Linked DNA regions of Homo sapiens: region 2 is linked to region 1. Evidence: promoter capture Hi-C in human tissues and cell types (Jung and others, 2019). All regions are on one chromosome and are shown on one strand. The core of a region is centred on a gene start or on the middle of the fragment in contact, and the rest is flanking DNA. Distances in the headings are between cores, read along the strand shown.

Evidence for each region. Contacts are between HindIII fragments. The study calls those that stand out against the background at their distance.
Region 2: a contact is called between a fragment that was not itself captured here and the fragment with the promoter of CRLF1 in region 1, in 1 of the 25 tissues and cell types used here (spleen).

The regions. Positions count from the first base shown.
Region 1 is chr19:18,602,647-18,610,438 of GRCh38, reverse strand. It overlaps CRLF1 (cytokine receptor like factor 1), which reads left to right and starts at 3,640. Exons shown (of 9, transcript NM_004750.5): 1 at 3,640-3,897. The coding sequence starts at 3,783. RefSeq lists an enhancer at 3,600-4,518. The HindIII fragment of the contact is 9,492 bases long and covers 1-6,189 here.
Region 2 is chr19:18,741,349-18,749,140 of GRCh38, reverse strand. CRTC1 (CREB regulated transcription coactivator 1) reads right to left here. Exons shown (of 14, transcript NM_015321.3): 2 at 6,115-6,231; 3 at 3,181-3,318; 4 at 2,027-2,088. Among named protein-coding and RNA genes, the nearest start is that of COMP, 46 kb to the left of the region's middle. RefSeq lists an enhancer at 1-18. The HindIII fragment of the contact is 7,147 bases long and covers 866-7,792 here.

The DNA.
Region 1 (7,792 bases), core at 2,391-4,890:
TGCAACTCCCCAGGTCCCGCCTCCAGTGCCTGAAGTCCAGTGTGCATTACACTGAGCACCCAGGCATTGCTTCTCCCCAGGCTCAGCCTCCAGGGCAGAAATTATAAAGCCTAGGTACACACGGGCCCCACTTTCCTGTGCCACAGACCCTGAACCAGGTGTCCAGACCCTCACTGCCCCTTAATTCCTGAAAGCACCTGCCTGGAACACCAGGTAGCTAATCCCATACTGGGGAGCCCTGAGCACGGGGCTTTCAGAATGGGAGAGACAGCTCTCAGCCTTCCTCACTCCCAGTGGTTGTGGGTCCCCACAGGACCCTGAAGGTGCCATTTCCACTGCCCCCTCCCTGGTGCACCCTCAGTGCCCTGGAATCACGAGGGAGCTGGGGATGGAGGCCCCCCCCCCAACCTAATACCTCTCATCCAGAGGTGACCTTGGAGTGGAGGGTGCAGGACTAAGGAGGGGTCCCTCCCCCAGCCCAAGGGGAGGCCCTCCCTCTGCCCAAGGGGAGGCCCTCCCTCCTTCTGCCCCTTACACATTCCCAGCCAACTTCAAGGACTTGGGTCAATATTTGCCAGAAGTTCCATTGACGCTAGCTCCCTTTTGTCCTCAAGGAGATAATGGAACTGGGGAGTAAAGGGTTAAACTTCTGGGGGCCCTAAGGGCCGGGAAGGATGCACTCTGGGGTCAATTCCCTTTCCCTGAAGTCAAAGGTGTGGGGTAAAGATCACCCAAGGGCAGAAGTCACACTCCAGGGTGGGGCTGGGCAGGATTGGAAAATGGTCCTTCCCTTCTGTTGGTAAGAACAAGAGAGGGATGTCTACTGGCTAGGGTCACACAGCAAGACACAGAGTGTGGGCCAGGCTAGGACCCCAGGCAGCATGACTTGCTAGGACTGAGTTTTCTTGCTACTTGGAGGGAGTAAGAGTTCTCCATCCTTTACTTTTACAAATATTTAGTGAGTGCTTCGCTTTCAGCCCTCACTGGGCCCACCACTGGGGTCCAAAGGGGCTGAGGCTGCCCACAGTCTAAAGAAAATCAGTTGCACAAGAAATGAAATGGTTGGAAGAGTTGTGTTTCAAAAACAATAAAACAAAGTGAAGGAGAGGGAGAGTGCTGGGGGAAGGGTGGAGGGCCTCTCTGAGGAGGTGGCACTAATCCTGTGAAGTGATGGAAGAGAAAGGGCCAACTGGGGAAGATGTGGGGAACAGCATTCCAGCAGAGGGAACAGCCAACACGCAGAGGCCCTTCTATAGTAACAAGCCTGGTATGTTTTGGGAAACAGGGCTCCAGTGGCTGGGGCGGAATGAGGGAGAGGAGGGGGAAGAGGAGAGGGAAGAAGAGGAGGGGAGAGGATGGCGAGAGGGTGGCAGGACAAAGATCTGCTTTTTCTTCTTTTAAAAGCTCCCTCTGCCTGGTGTGCCGAGAAAGGCAGAAGGGTTATCAGGGAGGCCCTGGAGGAGGCCGGGAAGCATCCCTGAGGGAGACCGTGGGGCCTGGATCTGAATGGGGTGGGAAAAAGGGGTCAGCATCTCAGAATGGAGATGTGTTTTAGAATCAGAGCCAACAGGATTTGCTGATGAATTGGACATGAGGGATGAGCAAAGGAGAGAGTTGTCACGTGCGCTTCCAGGTCTCTGGCCTGAGCACCTGGATGGATGGGAGAGCCCTTTCCCAAAACCAAAATGACTGGAAGAGAAGCAGAAATGGAGGGAGGAAAAAATCAAGGTTTTGCTCCAGAAGCCTGAAGTCCTCCCAGGAGGGAGTGAGGCGTCTCTATCCACACAGAGAGCATCTGCAGACAGGAGCCATGGGGGAGTAGTGGTGAGTATCCTAAAAACTCAATTCCAGCCAAGGACTGCCACCTCCACTTAACCCTCTGGGTCCCCTGGCAGGTGGGACTATGGCTCCATGTTTCAGAGGGGACAAGCAGGGCTGGGGGTCACCTCTGCTCCAGGATATCCTCCAGTGCTGTGCTAAGGGCTTGGATTGTAGAGACTTCTGCTGCCCTGCGTCTTCCCACAGAAGCTCCTAGACTGGGTGGTGCCCACTGTGCAGAGGAAGAAACTGAGGCACAAAAGGCCTGGTTTCCCGAAGTAAATGGCAGCGTCTCTCCTTGTCTGTCTTCTCCATCCAGAATTCAGATGGAGCAGGGGCGCCCTGGGCCCCTATAGGCTCCCATCCCCCAATCTTGTTTTTTGACAGTCTGGAGTCTGAACTGGAGATTTAAGTAGGAGAGGGTGGGGCTTCAGTCTTGGGCAGACAAATGGGGGCTCCTGAGCCCCCCTCAGACACTTTTACCCCCTTGGCTGGTTGGGGACCAGGAGAGAGAATCCAGGCCTCTAAGGGACTCCTGGAAAAGGGGACTTGGAGCCGTTCCCTTCCCTGGGCGCTGCAGCTGGGGGCGGGGCTGCGACCAAAAGTGGGTAATTGCACCCCCCAACTCTCATTTCAGGCACCCCCATCCGCAGCAGCCTTGGAGGCCAGGAACCCTTTATTCCTGGGCGCCCGCATCGGGTGGGGACCGGGAGGAGGGAGATGAGACGCCCGGACCGGGAGGGGTCCCGAAACTCGAGCAATGGCCAAAAATAATAACACGGAGAAGGCTCTTTGCGCAAAAGAAGGAAGACAAACTATGCGTCGCTCCGGGCAGCCGGCGTTACCTGGAGTCGGCGGGCGGTGGCCGCCGAAGCGATTACTCACCGCGTGGCGCACCCCACCCGCGGGCCGCTGAGTGGATTTTTCCGTGGCGGGGTGTGAATAGGTCCCGGGGAAAGAGCTTCTTACCGCTCTCCTCCTGGGAATCCCTCTTACTGCGGTGCGGGACCCAGTTCCCGCGCAGGCCTGGGTCCCGGCTCCCACAGGGGACTACATCTCCCCGTCTGCCCACGCAGGAGCTCCCTCCCGAGGCCCCCGGGGCGCCCAGAGCAACCTCAAACCCATCCCGCGCGCGAAGGGGACAGCGCAGCCAGGGCGAAGGCGAGGGACTCCGTGCCTTCCTGCTTTTTCTCCTTTCTTCCAGCAAAGCCTGGGGCCGAGGCTACTCGCGGAGAATCGAAAAGAGGCAGGATGAGGTGGGAGGGCTGGAACCCGCGCGCCGAGGGCGTGGGGCTGGGGGTGACTTTTAGGCCCCTGGGAAGGCTGAGGGGCTGGAGATGGGGGTAGGCGGGACTCAAGGACCGCTCGGTGGGGGGGGCGGGGCCAGAGCTGGGGTGGGGGCCGAGACAGAAGATTGGGCCGTGGAAGGGGGAATGGAGGAGTGGGGCAGGGTTGGGGACCAAAGGGGCCACTGAAGAGGCACTGGGCTGAGAGGAGGGTGCAGGGAAGTGGGCAGGGTTATGGAAACGGGATTGGGGGTGCCGGGTCCCAGACTGGGGGTGGGAAGCCTGGAGCTGGCAGGGTTGGAGAGGGAGGTCCTGGGCCGGTAGGGGTTGAGTTAGGGGGCTTTGGGCCGCGGGATAGGGCGCGCGCGGTTCTCGGTGGGGCGGAGGCGGGACGGGCGGGGCGCGCGGTGCCCGCGGGCGGGCGGGCGGCGGGGAGGCCGGTGCGGGGCCCGCCGCCCCCCCGGGGCCGGGCCGGGCCGGGGGCGGGGCCGGGCGGGGCCAGCGGCGCATTAGCGCCTTGTCAATTCGGCTGCTCAGACTTGCTCCGGCCTCCGCGTCCGCGCCCAGCGACGTGCGGGCGGCCTGGCCCGCGCCCTCCCGCGCCCGGCCTGCGTCCCGCGCCCTGCGCCACCGCCGCCGAGCCGCAGCCCGCCGCGCGCCCCCGGCAGCGCCGGCCCCATGCCCGCCGGCCGCCGGGGCCCCGCCGCCCAATCCGCGCGGCGGCCGCCGCCGTTGCTGCCCCTGCTGCTGCTGCTCTGCGTCCTCGGGGCGCCGCGAGCCGGATCAGGAGCCCGTGAGTACCCGGCGCCCCACTCCTTCCCCCCTGCCAGAGCAGAGGGCGGGCGCCCCGGGGGCAGCCGCGGGGGGAGGGGGCGCGGGCGCCACCTGGACGGCCGGGGAACAAAGGAAGGCGCCCCCGGCGCAGCCCTCGGGGCGCCCTCACCTGCGGGGCACACGGCGCCGCAGTCCACTGTCCAGAGAGTCCTGCTTCCGCGCCCGAGGCCCTGTTACCTGGGCAGCTGGGCCGAGGGCGCCAGGCCAGGCCCCCGGGGGCTGGGGGGATCGCGGCCTGAGACCCTCTGCATGCCAGGACGTGGCGGGCGCACGCGTCTGCTTCGGTGGACTCTGGGCCCCTGGGACTGCAGGGCACCGCTCCCAGGCGGGGGCGCACGCGGTTGGCGCGCTGGGTGCGGGCCCCCAGCGGGCCCCCCCAGGCGGAGGGATGAGCCCCACGGGGAGGGCGGGGCTGCAGGGGGGCCGCTCTGGCCGCCTGGCGCGCAGCCCGGGGTCCCGGGGGACTTGTGTCTCCACGGGCCGGCGCCACCGCCCTCCCCCTGCGGGACCCGGCGCACGGGGGTCCGCGGAGTCCCCGCCACCGGCGGCGCTTAGAACCGTTTTCAGCCAGGCTGCGTCGGGCGGAGAGCCTCCAGCGAGAGGAATCTTTGTGAGCGAGTGGGTGAGAGGGAGAGGGAGCGGGAGCCAGTGAGTCCGGGCACCAGCGGGCCCAAACTTTGAGGGGGCCCACTGGGAACCCGCTGCCCTACGGGCCAAGACCCCTGCCCTGGAGGGACTTCTGGCCTCAGGCACTCTGGGGCCCCCCATCCAAGGAACACCCCCGCAAGGATACGTCTCCGTATGCAGACCCGCTCTGGGACACACCCAGAGACACACAAAGAATCACACTGGCTTGTGGCCCGTCACCCTCGCCCTCAAACTCGCGCACACTGCATCCCAGGTGCACATTCGCGCACCATCGCGGACGCACACACATTCCATCCCCGACACACACATTCACGGTCACACACATCCCACAGGGGAGGCGACCCAGGGGCACAGAGGCAGGCACCACTCGCCCCAGATGTTCAGTCACTCCACGCACCCCATCCAGGCGCACGGGCCACCCCGGGGGTCGCCGGGCACACACTGCTCCCAGGCTCATCCACCCTGTGCTGGGCTGTTTGCGGGCTGCCTGTAGGGCTCCTCCGGGAAGGGGCAGGGTCCGGGCATCTTCTAGGGGCACTTGCTGAAAGCCTGGCTCTCCCCTGGCTTTCAGGTGAGGGGCTACCTCGGGCCCTCCCAGGGCCCCTGACGGCTCTGCCAGGCGGTGGGCAGCGCCTGTGAGTGCCACTGTGAGCGCCAAGCTTTGTTTTCAGCCAGTAGAGCAGCAGGCGAAGGTGTAGGGGGTGGGGGGGCACTGTAAGTGTGTTTTTTCCTTTAAGGGGGGAAGAAATTAAATAAAAGATTCTCACACCTCGGCAATATGTTTCTACTTACGGTGTGTCTTAGCACCTGACCAGCAGGCGGGTGGGTCGTAAAGTGTCTGCAGGTACCAGCGGGACGGGAGATGGGGACCCCCGTGGGGACCCTGGGATGGAGGCCACCCTTCCGCCCTGCTTGCAGAGAATCTCACACTTTTCCCTTTTAAAACACATGGTGTTCCTTTTTAATAACGGCAGTGGCTCCAGATTGGGAAAAGAGGAGAGAAAAAACTTTTAAAGGCCCCAGCTCTGCGGGAAAGGAGGGGAGGCAGGGAGTGAAAAGGGAGCTGTTCAAAAGCCCAACCTAGGGATCTGCTTTGGGGAGCCCTAGGAGGCCCTCCAAACCAAGCCAAGCCCCCACCAACTCCGGCTCAGTGGGCTGTTCCCAGCTGCTCCCCTGCCTGGCCTGGAGTGCGTGCATCTCTGTCCCCAGCGCCTTAGCCCATTGTTTGTGGAGGCCTGGAGGGAGTGCCTAGTCAGCCGGGACCCCAGAGCTGGGAGGGGCTGTCATCTTTGCAGCTCCTGGGGGCTTCAGGCTTCTGAGCCCTCTGGACATTGGATTGCAATCACATCTCATTGATCTCCCCAGCAAGTAGAACGTATTTCTCCTCCCATTTTATGGAGGAGAAAATTGAGAACTGGAGAGGGGAAGTCAATTGGCCAGGTTCTCCCACTGGTGTTGCGCCCATATCCCGGGAGGAGAAAGTGTCCTTCTGACCTTACCGGCTGGGGCTAAGGGGGTGGGAGATTGGTCTGTCCAGGCCCGCCTGGCCTTGCCTTCCCCCTACAACCCGTCGCCGCCCGGTGTCCCCCGCCCAGCCCCGGGAGGGCAGCTGCAGCTGCTGGCAAGTGAGCCACGCCGGCCCAGGCCAGGCGGGTGTGGCAGAGGGGCAGCGCCCCCCAGCCAGGACCCCCCAGAGAGCCCCTTCCTGCCCAGGCCAAGCTGGCGGGTGGTGGGGGCAGGAGGAGTGAGACCCACTCTAGAAGGGCTGAGAGGGGCCTGGGGTCTGGGCAGGCCTGGCCGTGCCTCCCACTCTGTTGGGGGGGCCCAGGCAGGAAGCGGTGGGTGGGCCGGGGCAGAGACGCTGGCACACCCGAGTTCATGCAAAAGGAATTCCGAATTAGCGGGCGGCTGGCTGCCTGGGACCTCCAGGGCGGTCCCCTGGCCCCCAGCCCCCCGCCCCCCTCGGCCGCCCCCGCCTCCTCGGCTCTGGCCCGCTCAGCCGGCTCCTTCGCACGGACGCGGAGACCTCCGGCGAGCCCTGGGCCAAGCCCCAAGCGCAACTGCGATTCCAGGCTCCAGCGAGACAGAGCCCTCGAGCCAAGTTTGCCCCGGAAAATCATCAGGGCCGGCCCAAGAACCGTGTCCACCCCACCTCGCCCATCTGGGGCAGTGAGGGCAAGTGCAGGGCAGCGCTGGCATTCAGGGGGCCTCCCTGGGGGCCAGGATCACCCTGTCCTTGGCTGCCATCTCTGCGAAGCTGGGCTGCCCCTGCCTCCTGCAGTCCCTTCTTCCAGCCGCCTGGGGAGTCCTTTTAACGCATATCTCACCGCATCCCTCCCTCCCCGGCTGAGAACCCTGGAATCCCTCCTCCCTGCAGGTCAGGGTCTCTGACCTCTCAAACCTCATTTCCCACCGCTTCTGCCCCAGGACCTTGGCACTTGCAGCTCCCACTGCCTGGACATGCTCTGTTAGATAATGTCACAGCTACTTCTCTTACTTTATTCAGGTCTCTGCTCAAAGGTCACCTCCCCAGACAGGCCTCCCAAGCTTCTGCCGCTGCTCTGTCTTCCTCCAGCCCCTGCTTTACTTTCTCCCCTAGTTATTGTCTTAGATATTTATTTATTCCTTTTTCCTGCTGCTTCCTTGGATTTGATGCCCACAAGGGCAGGACTTTTGTGTGTCTTGGGCATCACCCCAGTGCCCACAGATCCGGACACACTATAGGTACCCTGTGAATGAATAGATGAACGCGTGAACGAACAAAGGCGTGGATGAGTCTTTACAACCACTCTGTGTGGAACGAGAAGCCCCTTTCCAGAGGCTCAAAGAAGTAAAACACTGAGGCCGGGTGCAGTGGCTCACGCCTGTCATCCCAGCACTTTGGGAGGCCAAGGCGGGTGGATCACTGGAGGTCAAGAGTTCGAGACCAGCCTGGCCAACATGGCGAAACTCCGTCTCTCCTAAAAATACAAAAATTAGCTGGGTGTGGAGGTTATGGTGAGCCGAGATTGTGCCACTGCACTCCAGCCTGGGTGACAGAGTGAGACTCTGTCTCAAAAAAAAAAAAAAGTAGAACACTGAGTCAGGCTGGGGGCATTCGAGTCCAGGTCAACTTGGTTTAAAGATCTCATGGGAAAATATTGTCTCCAACAATATTTTCACTCCTCTCAAACAACCTCATGAGGTTTGTTTTGTTGGTTTTTATA
Region 2 (7,792 bases), core at 3,190-5,689, 140 kb before region 1:
GCATTTCCCTCTAGGAACTGATGGGGAGAAAGCACAAGGCCACCCAATCTGCTCCTGGCTGCAGGTGCCTCAAGAGTGGGTCCCCAGAAAGCCTCCTTGGCTGCCAGGCAAAATGTGGGTACAGCCACCACCAGCTATGTGTCTCTGAGCAAGTGTTTTGACCTCTCTGTGCTCAATTTCCTCATGTCTAACACGGACTACAATGGAGATGAACACACTGCCCACTCCATAAAGCTCCATTCATTTTATATAAGTTAATGAATGTGATGGTGGGAACAGGGCCTGACCTATGATACGGGCTTGGTGAGAATTTAATATTGTAGTATACATATATATTTTGAACAGCTTGCTTACTTTTCTTCCGTTTACTAACATGTGTGTGTATGTGTGTGGTGTGTGTGCGTGTGTATGTATGTATATGGTTTTTCTTTTTTTTTTTTTGAGACAGGGTCTCACTCTGCCCCCCAGGCTGGTGTACAGTGGCATGATCATAGCTCACTGCATCCTCAACCTCCCAAGCTCTAGTGATCCACCCGCCTCGGCCTCCCAAAGTGCTGGGATTACAGGTGTGAGCCACTGTGCCTGTTATATATATTTCTATTGTAGTAAAATATATATAACAGCCAGGCACAGTGGCTCATGTCCTGTAATCCCAGCACTTTGGGAGGCCGAGATGGGTGGATCACTTGGGCCCAGGAGTTTGAGACCAGCCTGGGTAACGTGGCAAGATCTTGTCTCTCCAAAAAAAAAAAAAAAAAAAAAAAAATCAGCTGGAAGCAGAGGTGGGACGATTCAGTCTGGGAAGTCGAGGCTGCAGTGACCTGTGATCGCGCCATTGCACTCCAGCCTCAGTAACAGAGTGTGACCATGTCTCAGAAAAAAAATTATATACACACACACGTTTGTATACATATGTATGTAAATATGTGTGTATATATGTATAGTTTTAACTGTTTTTGAGTGTATAGTTCTGTGACATTAAGTACATTCACATTGTTGTACAACCATGATCTATATTATTGTATGTTTTTATATTAACTATATTATTGTTATTTTAGGCCTTGGAGACAGGGTCTCGCTCTGTGGCCCAGGCTGGACTGTAGTGGCATGATTACAGCTCACTGCAGCCTTGACCTCCTGGGCTCAAGCAATTCTCCCACCTCAGCCTCCCGAGTAGCTGGGAGTACAGGCGTGCACTACTACATCTGGCTAATTCTCTCATTTTTTGTAAAGATGGGATCTTTCTATGTTGTTCAGGCTGGTCTTCAACTCCTGGGTTCAACTGATCGCCTGCGTTGGTCTCCAAAAGTGCTGGGATTACAGGCGTGAGCCACTGTGCCTGGCCTGTATTTTTCCTAATCTTCCATCCTAAATGTGTTAATATAATTTTATCATCACATTTTTAATGGCTGTTGAGTAACATGGGTACCTGCTCTGAATACAGCATTAAATAGGAAAGAGCAAGCTACAGTGCTGAATATGCGGTATCGTCCCACTTTCTTTTTCTTGCGATGGAGTCTCACTCTGTCACCCAGGCTGGAGTGCAGTGGCTCGATCTTGGCTCACCGCAACCTCCGCCTCCCGGGTTCAATTATCCCGCCTCAGCCTCCTGAGTAGCTGGGGATTACAGGCATGCGCCACCATGCTGGCAAATTTTTGTATTTTTAGTAGAGACGGGGTTTCACCATGTTGGCCAGGCTGGTCTCAAACTCCTGACCTCAAGTGATCCGCCTGCCTCGGCCCCCCAAAGTGCTGAGATTACAGGCCTGAGCCACCACTCCTGGTCCCACTTTTGTTTTTGTCTTTTTTTTTGTCATAAGTGGGGGGAAGGGAAATGTTAGAAGACCTCCCAAAGCTGGAACTCCTGTGTTTCAGGGTGAAGGCTAATTTCTAGAAACTTCTGGATGCATCTTAGTTTGGTCATTGTTTAAGCGACTGTGTCCTGCTTTTCCACATGTAACCATGATGAGAGTTTGGTTTTGTTTCCAACAAGAAGGGGGCGGGGGGGGGGTGTCCAGCCACTGACCTTCTCCAGCTGGTGTCCGCGGGTGGTGAGAGGTACATGGTGCCATAGGGGCAGCTGTCGGCGTGAGGTGAGTTAAGGGGGCAGTGCCACTGGCTGAGACCCCGCCTCCAACAACACACTCTCAGCCCAGGGCAGGAAGCCCCGGCTGGCTGGCTGGGGTCGGCCTGAGGCCTGCAAACAGCTGGGACCAGTAGGGCGGGGGGCGTTTCCTGCCGGCCTTTCCTGCCTGGCTACAAGCAGCCCCCGTTCCAGGGGCTCTCCAGGGGTACAGCCCTGTCCACCTAGCACTCAGCACTCTGCTCCGTGAGCACACGTGCGGGCTGCACCCCTTCCAAGGGAGGGGGTTCTGGGCTGTGAAAGTAGGGCCTGTGGGGACGCTGTGGAGTCTGAGTTCAGCTGACCCTGGTCTGGACTCTCCATCCTGGGCTGACGGGGTGGCTCCTGGGGCCCAAGGGCTCAGTCTGGGGCCCAGCTGGTCAAGCTCCCCCAGCCCACGGAAATGAGAACCGGAGAACAAGCTTCTCTGTTCTGGAGAGCCGGGGGATCCCGGGAGCAACCTGAGGCCGCTCAGACTCTGGTGTTGTGGGGCCCGGCTGGCTGAGCACCAAGGGGCGGCTGAGTTGGGGGGGAGGGGGGGACTCTGGCTGATCTCTGCGTGACCGAGTCGCAGAGGCGAATTTTACTCCTGTCTTACAGAGATGGAGCCTCCCTTGGATGCGTCCGGGTCTCACACAGACCCCCTTAGCCCCATTGCCTTGGCTGGGCTGCCCTCCGTGCAGCGCGTAGGAGAGGCCTCATCAGCTCACAGCCCTGACTGTGGGCTCCCTGCTCACGGCCTTCCTGGCCCCACTGCCCTGCCAGGTGTCTAAGCCCTCTGTGGTCAGGTATAACCTTCCTCAACTCCTGCCTTGAGAGCTGTTCCCTGTGCCCCTTGAGCCCCCAAGTCTGGCCAAAGGCTCCAGGGCTTGTGGCACAGCCTCCTCCAGGAAGTCCCCCAGGCTGCCCTGAGATCAAGCCTCCCAGATGGTGCTGCCCTGATTCTGTCCCCAGAGCTGGAAGCAGGCAGCCCTGTCAGAACCTGCTGGGTAAACTTGGGGTCCTGCCGGCACCGACAGGGCCTGGCCCCCACCCTCATCCTCTGGTGAAAAGGATATCTGCCGTCCGTGTTTGTCCACTGACAGGGGCCGGCGGTGTGGGGAGCCGAGCCGGCCACGCTCCCGGTACACCCTGTCCACCAGCCCATGGTGCCGGGTGGTCCGGCTGGTGTCCAGGCCCGAGGATTGGAAGGGGGTCTGGGGGAGGAGGAGATGGAAACAGAGAGAGAGAAATCCAAACAATGGTTACCAGCTGTGGCCCCAGCGCTGGCCCCAGAGTCTGATCGCAGGGCCCCCCACTCTGGAGCACCCTCGGCCATCGCTCCACAGCCTGGGATGGGCTTCTTCCTTCAGCCCCAGCTCCCTGGCTCTCCAAGCACTGGGGGGTAGGGAGGGGGTGTGAGCTGGGGTCCCGGGAGCCAGGGTGGCAGGGGCGTGCAGTGCAGCTGGCATGCACAGGCCAGGCAGAGCGGCACAAGCTCGGGGCCAGCGCCCGCCGGGTGCCAGGGATGTAGCCGGCCTAGGCAGCCCTCCTCCCCAGTCTCACCAGGTGCAGACAGGCCTCCGCCCTCTCTCTCCGGGCCTGGACGGCCTCCTACCCCCACCTACGTCATCCCTGGAGGGGCCTGCCAAGAGACAGCCCAGGGGCTTCCAGCCCAGGACTGTTTCGGGGCCCACCTGGCCAAGCGCGAGTTCCTGGGAGGCTTCCTTGTGGAGCCCAGGGCTGCTCTTGATTGAGACGCGGCCCCCACACACCCTCCCCCGCAGCCTCCTCCAGGCACTCCAGGCACCACCAGAGCCAAGTACAGGCGCCTTCCGGAGCCATGGCCCACTGCTTGGCTGGATGGGGCTTCCTCCCAGCACCTGGGGCTGGCACCAGGCTGGCCCTCCCCAGGCCCTGCTACATGCCCGGCCTCATGCCCCCGGGGCTGCCAGGAGCCCGCCCTGACCCTGTGTTGCCCACTTGCCATCTGACTGGGGTGAGATCAGCAGGCTCTGCCAGCTTTGGATGCAGCCAATCCCCCAGTCCGGCCATCTGGCCCCTGAGCCCTTATGCCTTCTCTGGGCAGCCGGGCAAAATGAGACTCTGATACTAAAGTGAGTCTCCTCTCCAGAAGCCTGTCCATGGCTAGGATTGCTGCTTTGTCCCAGCCTCGGCCAGAGTTCAGGGCTGACTACTGTCCCCAGCCCTGGGGACCCCCAAGTCTTTCTTCGATCCAGCATGAACTCTGCTGGTTTGGGTCTTTCCGTGGCTCTTGCCCCCAAAAGGCTGTGGGCATGGGAGACGTGGGCCTGTGACGATGAGGGTGGGAACTGTGCTGTCCAGTGCACAGGCTCCTCAGGGTAGGGGCAATTCATCTCCTTCCAGAGATGCCTTGAAGCCCAGAGGGAAACTGAGGCAGCCAAAGCCAAGTCAGAGGCAGAATGAAGCGGGGGCTGGCCACACCCGGGCTCGCCACGTCCTGCCTGCTGGCCTGGTTTGGGAGATGCGTGCACACGTGTGTGTATGTGTGTGTGTGTGTGTGTGTTTGTGTGTGTGTGTATATAGGGACGGACCATGCAGCTTTGGGGCACATGCTGGGATTCTGCTCTGCTGGACCCCAGATGGGGATGCGCGGCTATGGCATCTGCCCCAGATGGACCCCAAGAGTCCCCAGGGCCTCTCGACGCGACCATACGCACTTCCCGAGATGGGGGTGCGGAGTGGATCCATTTCCATTTGGCGGACGGGACACCTCCACCTCCCTGGGAGCCGCAGGGGCGGCCGCTTGGGGAGCTCAGGGATCCCCAGCGCCCGCACACGGGTCGGGGTCTTGCAGGCTGGCGCCGGGGACGCCGCGGCCTCAGCCTGGGGGCTCATTTACCAGAGAGACAGGAGCCGCTGCCAGGGCCTCCCCCAGAAATCCGCTGGGCTGAAAATGCAAAGAACCGAGACTTTGAGACGCTGCTGCCTTGCCTGGCCCCAAAGGCGGGATGCGTGGGACCTCCCCCCGGGCTGTGGGCCTCGGGCGACAGACACCCAACAGGGTCCTGTGCCCCTCAGCCCCACTCAGGCTGAGCTTGCAAGGTGCCCAGAGAGAGACTCTCCTCCAGGGAAGAGGGGACAGGAGAAACAGGAAAGGGAGAGAAGGGCAGGAGGGGAGAAAACCTGGCCAGGAAGGGCTGTGACAAAGAACACGCCCAGCATCAGTGATGGCCCGCACTCTGTATGCCGGAGGAGGCGCACCGTGGTGGCCAGCCCAAGGATCCCTGCCCTGTCCAGCGGCGGTGCAGGTGGCGGTGGAGCTGGTGGGTGACTTGGGAGGGGCCCCGGCTCCATCTGGCCTGTCAGTGGCCATGGCTGTGTCCGAGGTGGTTTTCTCAGCCACAGAGTAGGTGTGACCCCCCCCCAGGGGGACCTGTCCATGCAGAGCCCAGACACCGTCCTGGGGGTGGCCCTGATTCATAGGCCAGCTCCCTCGGCCCCACCCCATCCCCATCTCCACCCGCAGACCAGGGACAGGGAAGAGGGCCGCTGTGGGCCTTATCTCCTGTTTACGATAAGGCTGTGCACGGCGGCTGTGCGGCCTGCGGGAGCCGCGCTGTGTGGGCCTCTGCCAAGAAACGTTTGCAGACAAGTGGGGTCAGGCCGCCGGGCCTCCTTCTGAGAATTGCTGGGCTTGCGGATTAGTGAGGCAGGACAGAGCCAAGCCCCAGTGGCCCCGAGCGGTTCCCGCTGCCGCACAGCCGGCCAACAGGTGTAGCGGCTGCCGAAATGCTGGAGGCCAGATGGAGGGCTCGCCTCGGGGTCTGCTGATGGGGAATGGGCTGCGGGGGCACCCTGGTGGGGCCACTCTGCTTCCTCTGGTTCCCAGGGCAGACAAGGAGAAGGCAGTGGTTGGGTGGGCTCCGCCAACTGTCTGATAACCCCAGCTGTCCTCAATGTCTGGCCCCCAGTGGGAGGCTGGGGGAAGCTCCCCACAATGGGGCAGGGCCAGGGGGCGGGGCACTCACCTGGAAGGGCAGGTCCATGGTGCCACTCCCGATCTGGTTCACGTTGGGCAGGGACCCGCCATAGTACTGGCCTCGGCTGGGGCCCAGTTGCAGGTACTGGGATTTCTGGAGCTGGAGCTGCGAGAGAGAAGCCAGCAGCTGCGGGAGGGGTCACCTCCCAGGCTCACCTCAGAGTGCCAGCCCCAAAGGCACAAAAAGACCCAAGTGGTGGGATTGACAGCCTAAGTGCAGAAGTTTGCAGGACCTCATGACCCAGATGCTTAAGGAAACCAGGTGTCCCTCCACCAAAAATGGCAGAATCAGAAACCCGAGGTGCCGGGACGGCTCCCCAGGCGGGGCAATGCACCATGCAGAAACCCATGACCGTGAACCTGGGGAGCTGGCTGCCTTGCTGCTGATTCGGTCAGTCAGTGAATGGGCAAGAGAGGCACTGGCGGGCCTGCAGCCTGCCAAGGAGGCCCCTCACCAGCCCAGGGGAGCCATTTCTTATCACGGCCAGAGGCTGTGACTTGGCAGGCCAGGCGGCTTCCCACTGGCCTGAATCGGAGGAAGCTGTCTCAGAAGCGTGGTGATGGCCTTCAAAGCGTGGGACTTGTGATCCCGACGGCAGCCCACACAGAGCCAGGGCAGCCAAGTCAGTCCCCCAGACCCAGCTTGAGTTCTAGAGGGTCCTGAGCCCCATGTTCCTTCCTCATGGTCCTTCCCAGCCTCTTGGGGGCTGGGCCCAGCTGAGCGCCTTCATCTCAGCTGCATCCCTGCTTCCCACTCCCTGATGGCATCGGGGCACAGAACCAGGGGCCAGGAGCTCCCTGATGGGTCACGCTGACTCTGAACAGGGCTGGAAGCTGGCCTCCTCCCCTTCATGTGGCTGATGCTGATTTGCCAGTAACAGAGGCCCCTGACCCATGTGGCACGACCCGAGGCCCTTGGGGATGCTGGTCCATGATGCCTGCCATGCAACTGGGGGAGGCAGCCACCGTGAGGAGAGGTGGGGCTGGGCAGGCAGGAAGGAGGGGTGGTTGTCCACTCTGGCCCGGCAGGGGCGGTTGCTAGGGTGGACACTGTGTACACAACAAGGCCGACTCGTTCCTTACAAACAGCTCCTGGCAGTGCGTGGAGAGCTGGCTGCCCCACCGCCCCAGCTTCCTAGGGGGCCCTGGACACCGGAGGCGGAAGTAAAGCCCGGGAACTGGCCACCTGCCCGGCTGAGCACCTCGCCCAGGTAAACAGCTGTTTCCTGTGAGCTGAAGTGGAGCCGATGGTAAGATTAACCTTGTGTGTTATTGGGTGGCTCTCGAGGGCCTGGGGGTGAGGCCCAGGGTCTGTGCTGGGAGCCCTTGGTGGCCGCTGGCCAGACACATACACAATGAACATCCACAGTGTCCCTCCCAGCAGTCACACCAGATGAAACAGGCCAGCTCCGGGCTGTGGCAGAGGGAGGGGGTGTAGGGTGGGGGTCCTACAGCTCCCACCCCACACCTACCTGGGCATAGGTCGCCTGTGGCCTCCCGTGACTTTCTCCACCCTCTTCTGTGTCCAAGTAGCATGACAGAAACCTGTGCTACATTCACCTCTCACTGACTATATGGCCCTAAAGGCTGTGACCCCTCCTGGACCTGTGTCCCCGACCTAGAGTGAGTGCTACAGGCGGGTGTGAGAGGGACACACGACGTGTGAC